3 separate regions of the Homo sapiens genome follow, and all the other regions are linked to region 2. Evidence: promoter capture Hi-C in human tissues and cell types (Jung and others, 2019). All regions are on one chromosome and are shown on one strand. The core of a region is centred on a gene start or on the middle of the fragment in contact, and the rest is flanking DNA. Distances in the headings are between cores, read along the strand shown. Region 1 holds the start of PIF1 (PIF1 5'-to-3' DNA helicase). Region 2 holds the start of ZNF609 (zinc finger protein 609). Region 3 holds the start of PLEKHO2 (pleckstrin homology domain containing O2).

Region 1 (2,700 bases), core at 1-2,500, 370 kb after region 2:
ACGTAATGGGTGCTATAGGGGACGTAATGGGTGCTATAAAGGACGTGACAGGGAGCAGGGTCAAGGCTACACAAGATCACGAGGACTGTCACTGGTAACACAAAGAGGTCACAAAGACGGAGAAAGGGCTTTGGGCTAACCGAAAATCCACCCTTAGAATATGCCCTGGGCCGGGCGCAGTGGCTCGCGCTTTAATCCCAGCACTTTGGGAGGCTAAAGTGGGCGGATCACCTGAAGTTAGGAGTTCTGAGACCAGCCTGGCCAACATGGTGAAACCTCGTCTCTACTAAAAATACAAAAATTAGCCGGGCGTGGTGGCGGGCGCTTGTAATTCCAGCACTTTGGGAGGCTGAAGAAGGAAGATCGCTTGAGCCCAGGAACTCGAGACCATCCTGGGCAACATAGCGACACCCTCTAATTAAAAAAAAAATACATACATATAAATACATACATATGCATACATTATATATATGTGTGTGTGTGTGTGTATATATATGTATATATATATATACACACACGCACCCTGCTACACAATTTCCATTTCTATATATCCAATTTCTATATATATATACACACAATATATATACAATTTCTATATATATACACACACACACACACACACATATACACACACACCGTGCTACACAACAATTTCCAGAGCGGCGGATGGGCACCGAGGATTAGGGAGCCTCAGGTGTCCTGCAAGGACCTCACTAGAACAGGGGTCCCTGCGCAGAAAGAATCCTCCTTCCCCGAGACCCAGGGCGAGCACATGAATCCTCAGAGTACTCTCCCCAGGAAGCAGGAGAATCGCCCGTGGGGAGATGCAAAGAGGGCTGCCGTGTAATAAGCGACTTCTGCCTTGTAGGTACATTCACTGGCTTATATGCAGCGGGCAGGTCTCACTCTTCCCCGTGTACAGACGTGGAAACAGGCTAAGAGAGGGAAACTCACTTGCCCTTCATAAGCCACAGCGGCTAGTAGTCAAAGTCAGTGTGATTCCCATGCCCTCGCGCTTCCCACCACCAAGGTGGGGACGAGGTGGAAAATATTCGGCTAGGGAAATCGCGGGGGACCCTGGGACCCTAGAAGCCGTGCTCCCTCAGGCTGACCCATTTGTTTGCACCCTCCCGCCGGAAACCCCTAGATAAATCAGGCTCTTTGCTCCCCACCTCTGGGTTCGGGCAGACACTCACTTGTGCCGACACTCAGATGAACAAGCAGATCGTAGCCGGCCTGTGGCTAAGCTCCGAAACTAGAAATTTTTCAAATGCTAGAGGCAGAAAATCACCCAATCACCGACTGGATCTTTAAATTCTCCAGCCACTCAGAGGTAGGGGCGTAACAATGGGCGTGTCTTTCTTTGCGTCTCTACTCCAGGAGCTTGGGCTGTACCAATTGCCTGCTAGAGGAAGGAGGTTTATGGTGGTGGCTGAGCATACCAAATCCAGTGGACGGCTGGGCGTGGTGGGAGGAGGCCGCCGCTGCGGCAGCCACCCGGCGGCGCGTGGTGTCGGGTCTGAAAACCCTACGCGACTCCGAAGATTTATTTTCAGAACCATCCTTCCAGCACACTCCCTCTCCCCTCTAGCCCGCACACAGAGGCTGGGCTTAGCCTTGGGGAAGATCTGCCTTTGGACTCTCACACCCCTGTTTACACTCACAGTACCATTGTCCAGTTCTGGGCAGACCACCCCAAGGCCTGCCCAATCCCTCCCCCGCCCCCAACTCTACATCCTTCTCTGCCTTTGTAAGGGACTTTACGCTTTGGCTCTCTCACCCACCTGAGGCCCATGAGTGAGAAACTCTGAGACCTGTGCCACGTGCCAGAGGGTACAGCGGAAGCGAGTAGAGTCTCTGTCTTCAGGGAAATTGTATCCCTCTTCTTGCACAGGATGCTGAAAGAATTTACTTTTAATCATCTTTATTATCTCATTGAAGCTTGGAATTACATAGCTGGAAAGGATCTTACAGGTGAGTCTGGCTACCTCATTTTACAGATAATGATAACTACCATGGATTAAATTGCCCTTTCCTTTCCTTTTTCCTTCTTAGGGCTCACTCTGTCGCCCAGGCTGTAGTGGAGTGCAGTGGCACAATCTCTGCTCACTGCAACCTCTGCCGTGGCGCGATCGTGGCTCACTGCAACCTCCGCCTCCTGGGCTCTGGTGATCCTCCCGCCTCAGCCCCCCAGGTAGCTGGAACTACAGATGCACACCCAGCTAATTTATATATATATATATATATATATATATATATATATATATATACACACACACACACATATATACACACACATATATATACACACACATATATATATACACACACATATATATATATACACACACATATATATATATAATTTTTTTTTCGTATAGACGGGATGTCACCATGTTTCCCAGGCTTGTCTCGAACTCCGGAGGTCAAACGATCCACCCACCGTGGCCTCCCGAAGTCCTAGGATTACAGGCATGAGCCCGGACCTTATTTTTCAAATGAGAAAAAAGCAAGGCTTCCAGAGATTTTACTGAAGGTCACATAGCTGATATGGAGAGCAAAACCAAACATTGAACCCAGATTACCTGCTCGCTTAATCACTCCATGGGGCTTAGCTACTACACCACACTGCTCCCAGTCTGTTAGCGGTAGAGGGTGATGACTGAAAGTTGTCCAGGTTCTTGGCGTTTTGAACAAAGA
Region 2 (2,700 bases), core at 131-2,630:
TCACTGCAGGAATGTTTACCTTCCTTTGTTCCCTATTTTTGCAGTCTAGTTCTCTCCAATGGCAGAGTCATGCTCCTTCAGTGGGAGATGACTACTGGAATGTTTAATCCTTAATTAAATCATGCCTAAGTCTAAAACACTAAACCCTTCTCTGTCTCCACCTGCTAAGTAGCTGAATCCTCACTTGTAACTTTGTCTAGTATACATTGGAAGTTCGCTGTCACCTGGGATCAGTTCTGCCCCTGTACTGTCTAACAACATGACTATTGGTGGACCAAAGAGAGATTATTTTTCCTAGACCAGAAAGGTTTACTTTTATCTTTAGCTATCAACCCCTCCCCCCACCTTTTTATGACCTCACTTTATCTCCAAGTCACATGCTATCTTGAGTGGCACTGTTGAAGGATGCCCCAGGATAAGGGAAAAAAGGTAAGATAAATGCAAAGCAAAATAAAATGGTCAAGGACACAGGAAGGACATAATAGGGGCTAGGATGTGGGAGGCCTTGAGAATTAAGGTAAATTTGTTTGCTATGGAATGAGATGGAAGTCTTAGGAGGTCGTCATGAATAGATGTTTCACAAGTGAAAGCTGGGTGGGAGGGCTCACTTAAACATGGACTGAATGCCTACTGTGCACTAGATAGTATGCTGGGCAATCAGAGATGAATAGCAGATAAGGAAAAATAAAAGCTACAATCCTTAGAATGGTGGGTTGGAGAAGGACAGAATAAGGTTTTTAGATAATAAAAGGCAACAAGATTTAGTGATAGAGGATGGTGAGGGGAAAAGGGATATATAGAGGGATTAGAAATGGGTGCTTTGGGGAGAAAAGCAAGTGGTAATCCTAAAAGAGAAAGCTGGAGAACAAAGGATAAAAAATTAGGAGGTTGGTACTTTGCTGAACTAAGGGGTAAAATGGATGAAACCATCAGGAGCTGTGATTGCTCTTCTGTTCTTTGTGGATGCCCATGTTCAGATCCCCTACGGCCCTTTCCTCTCTGTGGTTGAAGGACAACTACAGAAGAGGTGTCTTCTGTGTTATAAGGTGCAATACTCCCCCCAGAGACCTCTCTATGAGGAAGTCTGATCCAGCGAGAGTTCTACTGCCCACGAGGGGACAGCGTTAGGTTCGAGCTCTCTAATCCAGGTTTCTTTGAGTTTATCTTGGTTCTAACCGGCACGCCGGGTTTTCCAGCATTCCCTGAGCTAAGACTCCCTAATCTGGGCTCCGGGTGAGCGCGCATTCCGAGACCCAGGATTTCGCTCCTTCATCCAGGTTCCGGGTTTCCCCTGCGCTCACCGGCTCCAGACTCCACACAAGCGCGGAATCCGGATCCGAGGGCCTGGCAGTCCAGTGTCCGCGTCTTCCGGGTGACTCTGGTTGTCCCGGATCGCGGCGGCGGCGGCGGTGGCGGCGGCTGAGGGACCCGCGGCCCCGGACACAGCGGCACCGGCCGGGCGGGGCGGAGAGGCGCGGGGAGGGGGCAGAGAGCCAGAGCCGGAGCCGGAGCCGGAGCCGGGGTGGGGTGGGGGGGAGGGGCCGCGGGAACGGATGGCGGCCTGGGCCCCGTAGCAGCGGCGGCTCTACGGCCCGGGGCCCCGGGCGGGCGGAGGTGGCGGCTCCCGGGACCGGCCGCGCGGTGAGTCCGGAGCTTTGTGTGGAGCCGGGACTGGGGGAGGAAAGAGGCGGCGGCACCGATGGGGCGCGGGGCTGAGGGGATCTGATGGGGGCCGGGGGCGGCGGCGCTGCCTGACGGAGGAAGTGGGGGTTGGGGGGGCTGGGGCGGAGCGAGGGGAAGGTGTGTAGGGGGGGTCGTTGCGTGGGTGGGGGAGGGGGCGTCGAGGGGCGCGGGGTGAAGTTCAAAGCGTGGCCACGGCCGGTTCAGGCTGAGGGTAGGGGTGCCCGGGAGGGGATTAGGGTCTGGCTAGGTTATGGGAGCAGGCCAGAGAGTTTCTGAGGCGAGTCTGGGTATGTTGAGGGCGCTCGGGGCGACTGGGGCCAGTCAGGGAGTTGGCGGGGGAGGGGGGGCGGGGGCGGTGGTGGTTGTTCAGAGCATAGGGTCGGAAGCAGGACGTGTGCGTGACCTAGGAGTGGGGAGCAAGGTGGCTGGGATCCTGCAGTAAGTAGGTTGTGGGTGTGTGCCCCTAACAGTCTTCAGGTCACATTTACTCCTGTCCTTTTCTTCAAGATGGAGGGATCCCTGGGCCTGGACCTCAACTGCTATCCTTGTACCCCCGGGAGGGTTTGTGACCCTATCCTGTTTGGAAAACCCATGCTGCCCTCTTTTCCCTTTATGTGTAATTACGGTTGGATCATCTCTGTGCTTTGCTCAGATTCTCCTTCCTCCCTCTGGGGTTGAGGAGGAGGAGACACATCTGACCAATTAATGTGTGTTTGTGAAACAGGCAGCAGCAAACAGTCATTTCAGCTTCGAGGAATTAGGCTCACACAGGGTGGAGAGATCAGAGCCCTTCAGGGGGAATATTTCTGAACAAATCACGGATGATTAAATTCTCTAAGAAACAGCTCCCTACCTAAATGAGAGTGAGAAAGATAGGGAAGAAAGCCTGTCTGTTTCCAGCCATGTGTCCAGAGCCTAAGGGGTTGAGGAGAGTCCCCAAGCCCCTACAGGCCTCCCTTTTCTGTATTAGGCTTTGCTCTGCAGCCTTGAGTTAATTTCACCCCTGCTGCTTTGTCT
Region 3 (2,747 bases), core at 43-2,542, 380 kb after region 2:
TCCTTCCTCTCTCTCTCCTTCCTCTCTCTTTCTTTTCTATTCTTTCTTTTTCTTGACCAGTGTGATAATATCAGCCTCAATTTTCTTCATTCCTTTAGCTAAAGGATCCCAGGCCTAGGCATGAGGGAGAAGTGTACCTGCATCTCCTTCCCCCTTGGCCTGGGAGCCCCAGGCTGCCCTTTTCCGTACAGGGCTGGAAGTAGCCTGGGAGCCTGAGGGCTGGCAGAAGGCCGTGAAAGGGGAGCTTGGTCGCTGGCACAGCCGCTGCTATGGCAGCCAGAGCCGAAGAAGGTCACCATTGATCTCACATGCACTTAATTTTCCCTTCCTTGGCATGGGACGGGGTTGACCAGGAGAGCTAAGGGGGAGTATGCGTGTGTGTGTGAGAGGGGAGCGGTGCTGCAGGCTGCGATGCAGCCAGTTACTTTCTCTCTCTGGGCCTCAGTTTCTCCAATGTAAAATGAGGGCGCATGGTATAACTAAAATCATTACTCTCTGCTGGTCCCCACACTCCCACTCTCCAGTAAGGCTGTCAGGGCTGCAAGCTCACCGCGGGATCGGGGGGATGGTCGACCCTCAGATACGGGAGGGATTGAGCGATGCCCAAGGAGAGCAGGAGAACACTGCGCTTGGAGACCCCTGAGAGCCAGGGGCGGGCCGCCCCCTAAAGGGACCCCGGAGTCCCGACTCTCAGCTCCAGCTCTTCCTGTGACACCACCCTCCGGACAGAGACCCAAGCTCCAGGCCCGGCCCCGCCCAGAGGTTCCAGGGAGAAGACCAGGCCACCGCCCACTGCCCGGCGTCGGGGAGGAAAGAGGAGGAGCCTCTGTGTGCCCACATCTCTGGCCGCCCAGGGCAGCTCGGCTCGGTCTCGCAACCCCAGCCCACTGGTTCGGGAGACCTCAAAGGCTCCACCGCCAGCGCCCCCAGCGCTCACTGTGTGCGCCCCACCCCAGCCCTGCCTGCGCGCCGCTCCCGCCACCCTCGCCTCAGTCTCTGGGCCGGAAGCCCCCTCTCCTCCCCCGCCGCAGCCCCCTCCTAGTCCCTCTCCCTCCGCCGATGCGGGAAACCTTCTCCGCCCCGTCCCGCCCTCTTCCTCCAGTTGCATCTCCGCCCGGCTCCTCCGTCCAGTCTCCAACCCAGGCCCCGCCCCTCCCCACCCATTTCCCGCCCTGGGCCGGGCCCCCGGCCCCACCGCCCCCTCCCCGGCCCCGCCCCGGCCCCCGGAAGCCTCACCCCGCCCCCGGCCCCGCCCCCCCGAAGTTTCTTGGGCCCCCGGCAGCCGGCGGGACAGAACGCGGAGAGTCGCCGCCTGGCCGGGCGTAGACGCGGTGGCAGAGCCCGCGCGGCGCTGGAAGCGAGTGGCGGAGCGGCGGGACCTCGGCGGACTCGCCATGGAGGAGGAGGTGAGGGCGGGGCCCGGCGGGGCGTTGGGCTGGGGTCCTCGAGCCCCTCACGGGGATTGCGGTCCTGGGCTCAGGCCCTCGTTCCTGCCCGCCCCACTCCCGCCAGTCTCACCTCAGGAAGAGCCTGGGCAAATGGGGCAGGGGCGAGGGGCTGGATCCATATCGGGGACTTCGCAGACCGCGTCCTCCTTCATTCTCGCTGACTTTCTCACCAGTTGTGGGGCGTCGTGGTTGTTACCGTTCCCATTGGATTGACCAGGAGACTGAGACTCCAGCGAGATTGATGACTTGCTGAAAGTGGCCTGGGTGACTGGGCTCGAACCCCGATTACCGTGGTCGGATCCTGACTCTCTCTCTCTCTCTGTGTGTGTGTGTGTGTGTGTGTGTGTGTGTGTCGGATCCTGACTGTGTGTGTGTGTGTATGTGTGTGTTGGGGGGTTCCTGTCTCAAGGATCGGATCCTGACTCTGTGTGTGTGTGTATGTGTGTGTTGGGGGGTTCCTGTCTCAAGGATGTGACCATGCTTTGGTGGCAGGAGGATTGGAGAAGTTGCTTTTTTCTCCCTTGTATAAGTCTCTGTATCTTTTCCCCCACTCTCTCCCCGCTCCACATCCATCTGAGCAGCTAGCTGTAGGGAAGGAATCGGGAGTCCGGCCCACCTAGGGTCTGATCTTAGTCCCTGCCTTCCCCACCCGAGGGCTGGACCAACTGTGTCCCTGGAGCCTCCTTCTAACCACTCAAAACACTCTTGGCCTGGGATTGGGTCTTGCCCCTGCCCCTGCCCTTTACTTGCAAACTCAGTTCTGCCAGCAGCCGCTTTATCCGAGGGTCCAGCACGCAGCAAGCACTTAATATATGCCTGTGGAATGATTAAGTTAAAATGAGGGGCCTGTTGGGTCTAGAGGAAGGTGAATTTGTTTCTTATCCCCTGAGGGGGTCCCAGCTTCAGCCCCTCTCAGCCCAAGGGAAGGGGCATGTCTTTGCCTCCTTGGATGGGGAGGAAAGATGAAGTTCTCTGCCTTGGGGGAACCCTGGCCAGCTGGGAAGCCCTGAGTGGACCGGACTGCCTGTGTCCCTTCAGTGCCCACCTCCCACTTTTCCAGGGCCATGGATAGGAGCAGCTAGTGGTCCGTCAGGGCTCCCTCTAGGCCAGGCCCTGCCTTTCTGTGGGATGGTAGATAAGTCACTTCCCCTCTCAGCCTTCATTTCCTCTTCTACAAAATATAGTGCCTGTCCTCCTCATACTCCTGGCCTGACAGTGGCCGGTTCTCTCAGTGGGTGAAGGTAGGGGGCAAAGTCAGGCCTCTGTGATTTGCTGCGGTTTCTTTCTGGCTGTTAGGTG

Evidence for each region. The method cuts DNA at HindIII sites, captures the fragments that hold promoters and counts their contacts. A contact is called where the count stands out against the background at its distance.
Region 1: a contact is called between the fragment with the promoter of PIF1 here and the fragment with the promoter of ZNF609 in region 2, in 3 of the 25 tissues and cell types used here (IMR-90 fibroblasts, dorsolateral prefrontal cortex and spleen).
Region 3: a contact is called between the fragment with the promoter of PLEKHO2 here and the fragment with the promoter of ZNF609 in region 2, in 2 of the 25 tissues and cell types used here (IMR-90 fibroblasts and adrenal gland).

The regions. Positions count from the first base shown.
Region 1 is chr15:64,824,397-64,827,096 of GRCh38, forward strand. It overlaps PIF1 (PIF1 5'-to-3' DNA helicase), which reads right to left and starts at 1,251. Exons shown (of 13, transcript NM_001286496.2): 1 at 1,173-1,251. RefSeq lists enhancers at 1-194, 1,384-1,513. The HindIII fragment of the contact is 20,575 bases long and covers 1-2,700 here.
Region 2 is chr15:64,459,198-64,461,897 of GRCh38, forward strand. It overlaps ZNF609 (zinc finger protein 609), which reads left to right and starts at 1,381. Exons shown (of 10, transcript NM_015042.2): 1 at 1,381-1,641. It overlaps LOC105370861 (a long non-coding RNA gene), which reads right to left and starts at 1,390. Exons shown (of 3, transcript XR_932367.3): 1 at 1,302-1,390. RefSeq lists an enhancer at 903-972 and silencers at 1,433-1,552, 1,613-1,712. The HindIII fragment of the contact is 20,496 bases long and covers 1-2,700 here.
Region 3 is chr15:64,840,623-64,843,369 of GRCh38, forward strand. PLEKHO2 (pleckstrin homology domain containing O2) reads left to right here and starts at 1,293. Exons shown (of 6, transcript NM_025201.5): 1 at 1,293-1,406. The coding sequence starts at 1,395. It also overlaps a transcript of LOC124903508 not described here. RefSeq lists silencers at 816-1,135, 1,146-1,585 and enhancers at 1,393-1,916, 1,949-2,500. The HindIII fragment of the contact is 9,878 bases long and covers 1-2,747 here.